Regions from separate parts of the Homo sapiens genome. Here region 2 is linked to region 1. Evidence: promoter capture Hi-C in human tissues and cell types (Jung and others, 2019). All regions are on one chromosome and are shown on one strand. Each heading gives the region's core, a stretch centred on a gene start or on the middle of the fragment in contact. The rest is flanking DNA. Distances are from core to core; before and after follow the strand shown.

Evidence for each region. The method cuts DNA at HindIII sites, captures the fragments that hold promoters and counts their contacts. A contact is called where the count stands out against the background at its distance.
Region 2: a fragment that was not itself captured here is called in contact with the fragment with the promoter of OR10AD1 in region 1 in 1 of the 25 tissues and cell types used here (pancreas).

What each region holds. Positions count from the first base shown.
Region 1 is chr12:48,201,916-48,204,615 of GRCh38, forward strand. OR10AD1 (olfactory receptor family 10 subfamily AD member 1) reads right to left here and starts at 1,377. Exons shown (of 1, transcript NM_001004134.1): 1 at 424-1,377. The coding sequence starts at 1,377. The coding sequence ends at 424. The region is part of intron 1 of LOC102725258 (a long non-coding RNA gene); the gene reads left to right. The HindIII fragment of the contact is 6,629 bases long and covers 67-2,700 here.
Region 2 is chr12:48,655,789-48,658,488 of GRCh38, forward strand. All of the region lies in intron 8 of KANSL2 (KAT8 regulatory NSL complex subunit 2), which reads right to left. SNORA2A (small nucleolar RNA, H/ACA box 2A) reads right to left here and starts at 994; the gene lies at 860-994. The HindIII fragment of the contact is 5,884 bases long and covers 1-2,700 here.

The DNA of each region.
Region 1 (2,700 bases), core at 127-2,626:
AAAAACAGTAAAATGAAGAGCTGAAAAATAAAAGAGTTTATTTCTAAATGTATGTACGAAACTCAGGTTGGGGGACTAGCATGTAAAGGTATATACAAATAAAATGGAGTTAAGTGCACTTATTTATTGAATCCTGTTGTGAGAACTTAAGAGGAAAAGAAACTGAGGAAAAAAACTAAGGAAAATCCGAAATTCTCCCGAGGAAGGTCCAAGAAAAAACAATGTGGAAGTGAAGTCAGAGAGATAACATCAGGACATTGGACATCAGGAGGAACTTTCAGGTCTGATTCTAGTGCCAAGGAAGCCATGAACGCTCTTTCCTGGAGCCTTTCAGCATAGGAGAGTTACTCATCTGCCAGGGCTGGGGATGGGGTAACTCTCCCATTCCCCAGGTGAAGGAGCTTTCCTTTCAGGGCCTTCCTGCTAGACAGACTGTGGCTGGGCCAGCCTGGTTCTTCCAAGTGCCCTCACCATGGCCTCCTTAATTTCCTTGTTGCGGAAACTATAAATGATGGGGTTGCACATGGGGGTAATGATGGTGTACAGGAGGGAGAAAGGTTTGTCTTTGTCAGGCCCATGTGTGCTGTGGGGGTTCATGTAAGAGAACATAGCTGAAGTGTAGAGAAAGATGACCACAGTCAGGTGAGAGGCACAAGTAGAGAAAGTCTTCCCCCGACCTGAGGAGGAGGCTTTGCTGAGGATGGTGGCCAGGATGTGCACATAGGAAGTGACAGTGAGCACCATGGGGCTGAGAATTACCACGATGGCATCGGCAAAGATTGCCCACAGACTAAACTGAGGGTCCCCACAAGAGAGGCCAATCACTATGGGGGCCTCACAGAAGAAGCTTTCTATGTGGTTGTCTCTGCGGAAGGGCTCTCGGAATGAAATATACTCGAGAAAGATGCCATTGATCAGCCCAAAGAACCAGGCAGTTCCCACAAGCCTGACACAGACCTTCTGGCTTATGATCGGGACATAGTTAAGTGGGTAGCAGATAGCAACATAACGGTCATAGGCCATGAAAGCCAAGAGGATGCACTCGGCCACACCAACACAGAAGACAAAGTACATCTGGGTCATGCAACATACAAAGGAGACAATGTGGTCCCTGACCACGAGGTGGATCAACATCTGTGGGATGGTAGTGGTGATGAAGCAGACATCCAGGAGAGACAGATGGCCGAGGAAGAAGTACATGGGGCTGTTGAGCTTGGGGTCTGTCCAGGAGGTGATAAAGATGATGAGGCCATTCATGGCCATGGTGAGGCTGTAGAGGGCCAAGAAGAGGGCAAAGAGCAATGCTCGTGTGGAAGTGGAGCTCTGCTGAAAGCCCACGAGGATAAATTCCGTCACTATGCTGCCATTCCTTAGCATCTGGGGCCTGTTTGAGGAGGAAAGATGATGGGAAAAGCACAAGGGTATAGCTGTGGGGTAATAGAAGGTACCCACTTGGTCCCAGAAGCCCAATTATAAAACAGGATGGATGAATGGTGGTCAACCTTTTGGAACTTAGTAAACTAGTAATTTGGCAGTGTTACGGGGTGGTGAAAATGCCAGGGTCATCACAGGCTGCATACATAGAATCATAATATCAACAGATGAAGAAAGTGCTGGTTGTAATGTTCTTTACTCTGGTTTCATCAGGCATCAAGTGAAGTATTGCATCTGCTCCAGAGCCCTCAATATTGAAGGATTAGCCATTAACCAGGATGTATTCAGAGGTGAAAAAATAAGATAATTGGGTCTGGGACCATGCCAACTGAGGAAAAGTTTTAGGAATTGAAGAATGGAGTGTGTGAGGGAAAGGGCTGGTGGCTATCAGGTTATAGAAGATTGTATTTAGGAAGCACTTGAGATATTTGAAGGTGTATTTTTCTAGAAGCAAAAATGCTCAACCTCTGTGTACCTAATTTAAAATGATGAATGGGTTGAAGTTTCAGGGAAAATAAAAACATTCTAATCCTCACAATTGTCCCTCAGCTAACAGTGATTTGCACCTTTTTGGAGACAGTCATGTCAAGCTCTTCCCAGTCACCCACCTCTTCCCAGACTCACTCGCCCAGCAGTTGCTGCTGCTACCGCAGCCACCCATGCTGTGCATGCTGGAGCTGAGGGCTGGGTGGGGGCTCATGCATGCCTTCCTAATAGGAGATGGTTTTCCTCCTGGGGCTGGAATTTACGGTTACACACAATTGGGTGGAAAGGATCCAACCATCCCTGTGTGAAAAGGGAAGCTATGAGCAGGGCATATATCTAACCTTTCTAGAATGGACCTTCAGAGAACTTTCAACTGTCTCTTTGTCTCTGGCAACAAATCTTGTTCTTTTTCCATTTTCAAAGAATGAGCGGTCACAATTCTTATGCTCTTATCTCTCTATTGTAACTTTTAGGAAGTTGTTATGTTCATATTAAGTCTGTCTTATACTTTTCATGTTGTTTTGGAGCTAAGATGTATCAGATCCCTTCCACCTTCAGATGCTTATACTTTTTTTTTTTTTTTTAAGAATTTATAGAGACAGGTACTCACTATGTCACCTGTGCTGGTCTTGAACTTCTGGCTTTAAGTGATTCTCCTGCCTTGGCCTCCCAAAGTGCTGGGATTACAGATGTGAGCTACTGCACCCATCCTCATCTTCAGATGCTTATAGATGATAAGTATATTCCTGCTTAACTTTCAGTTCTGCCAACCATTTCTCT
Region 2 (2,700 bases), core at 141-2,640, 450 kb after region 1:
AGTGGCTCATGCCTATGATAACAACACCTTGGGAAGCCGAAGTGGGAGGATCACTTGAGGCCAGGAATTCAAGACCAGCCTGGGTGACACAGCAAGACTCCATCTCTACCTACCCACCTACTTACACACATACATACATAGGTTAAAAGAGTAAAATTTTGTTATGTATGTTTTACTACAATTAAAAAAATATTTTTTAAAAAAGCATATTCTCTGAGGCTACCTGTAATGAACATGTAAGTTCACCAGTGATTAATTTAAATATGAACAATGCTACGTTAAAATTAAATATTGCTGGGTAATACAAGATTGCCTGATTAATATCCTAACAGCCACAAAGCAAGCAAACAAGCTCCAACAAGGGAAAGGGAGAAGGTAGGAAGAAAGGAAGGACAACAGAAAACTCACAGTTCCTCTGAATGGCTAGGAAATATTATTTTGGTTAAGTCCCTATCCCGACAGAGCAACAACCTGGTTTTTTTTGTTTTGTTTTTTTTTTTTTTGAGACAGAGTCTCGCTCTGTCGCCCAGGCTGGAGTGCAGTGACGTGATCTCGGCTCACTGCAACCTCCGCCTCCTGGGTTCAAGTGATTCTCCTGCCTCAGCCTCCCCAGTAGCTGGGACTATGGGCGTGTGCCACCACGCCCAGCTAATTTTTTGTATTTTTAGTAGAGACAGGGTTTCACCATGTTAGCCAGGATGGCCTTGATCTCCCGACCAGTGATTGGCCCACCTCAGCCTCCCAAAGTGCTGGGATTACAGGCATGAGCCACCACGCCCGGCCAACTCCCTGGTTCTTAAGCCTAACATAGTTTTGCTCTGTAAAAAAAAAAAAAAAAAAAATGACATTACATTCTAGACTATGTTTCTTCCAACTGAATTGGCAATTCGCACTGGAATACTGAATAGCCAACAGACCACAAGGAAGACATCACTCTTAGCTCCTGTTTGAAACCAACAGCTACAGCAAACCATTGGTCTTGATTCAGGGCCTAAGGCAATACAAACTCAAACAATATATCAAACTAACTTTCATGCCACTGCTTTTCAAGAGTCTGGTGCTAAATTCTCCTTCTTCCTAAGAATTAAAAATATCCAGGAGGTTTGTACCCCCCTATGTTTAATCCAGTTTATAGATGCTCCGTGTTTCTATTCATCTAGCTTCACGAGAAGCTTAGTTCTACGCTTTTAAATAAATCTAAGAATTTGCAATCCTTTCCCATTTGTTGGTGTGCTAATCACCAAAAATGAGAATCACAACATCTTCACATTAAAGAATATATATAATTTTAAAATCTACTTAAAGCTGCTCAGGCCGGGTGCAGTGGCTCACGCCTGCAATCCTAACACTTTGGGAGGCCAAGGTGGGCGGATCATGAGGTCAAGAGATTGAGACCATCCTGGCTAACATGGTGAAACCCAGTCTCCACAAAAAATTACCAGCCTGGCCAACATGGTGAAACCCCATCTCTACTAAAAATACAAAAATTAGCCAGGCGTCTTGGCACATACCTGTAGTCCCAGCTACTCAGGACACTGAGGCAGGAGAATTGCTTGAACCCAGGAGGCAGAGGTTGCAGTGAGCCGAGACTGCACCACTGCACTCCAGTCTGGGCAACAGAGCAAGACTCTGTCTCAAAAAAAAATAATAAAATAAAGCTGCTCAATTTAAGCAGAAACATAGGGCACAGGATACACTCAACCTACCATTCATTTTCAGGTGAGTTGGAAACTTCTGTACTACCCACAGAAACCAGTGTTCTCACACCATTAAGACTATAAATCTGTTTTCTCCCATTCTTTTACTATGTGCAATTTGTGTGTGTGTGTGTGCGTGCGTGTGTGTGAGACAGAGTTTCACTCTTGTTACCCAGGCTGGAGTGCAATGGCAAGATCTTGGCTCACTGCAACCTCCACCTCCTGGGTTCAAGCGATTCTCCTGCCTCAGCCTCCCCAGTAGCTGGGATTACAGGCGCGTGCCACCACATCCAGCTAATTGTTGTATTTTTGGTAGAGACGGAGTTTCACCATGTTGGCCAGGCTAGTCTAGAACTCCTGACCTCAGGTGATCTACCCGTCTCGGACTCCCAAAGTGCTGGGATTACAAGCGTCAGCCACCGCACCCGGCCCATGTGCAATTCTTACATAAACAATTAGCTTGGAATGGGCACGGTGGCTCACGCCTGTAATCCTAGCACTTTGGGAGGCCAAGGTGGGCGAAACACTTGAGGCCAGGAGCTTGAGACCAGCCTGGCCAACATGGTGAAACCCTGTCTCTACTAAAAATACAAAAATTAGCCAAGCACAGTGGGGCGCACCTGTAATCCCAACTACTCGGAAGGCTTAGACCGGAGAATCGCTTGAACCCAGGAGGCAGACAGTGCAGTGAGCCGAGATCACGCCAATGCACTCCAGCCTAGGTGACAGAGCGAGACTCTGTCAAAAATAATAATGACTAGCTTGGAATTATTTAAACACTGAATCAAAAGGCATCTAAATCTCAAGATAATAATGGAATGTGTATGTTTTCAGAAAAGGCTTTTCTCATATATACAAAGGGTTGTCTTTTATAAGATTTTAAACTGGGAAAAGGATCCTAAAATAAGAAAATCAGCAAAAATGCCTATTAAAACAGGAGTGTTTTAAAAATTGAAGTATCAGGATATAAAGAGAATCCATGTTTTCAGCTGGGCGCGATGTC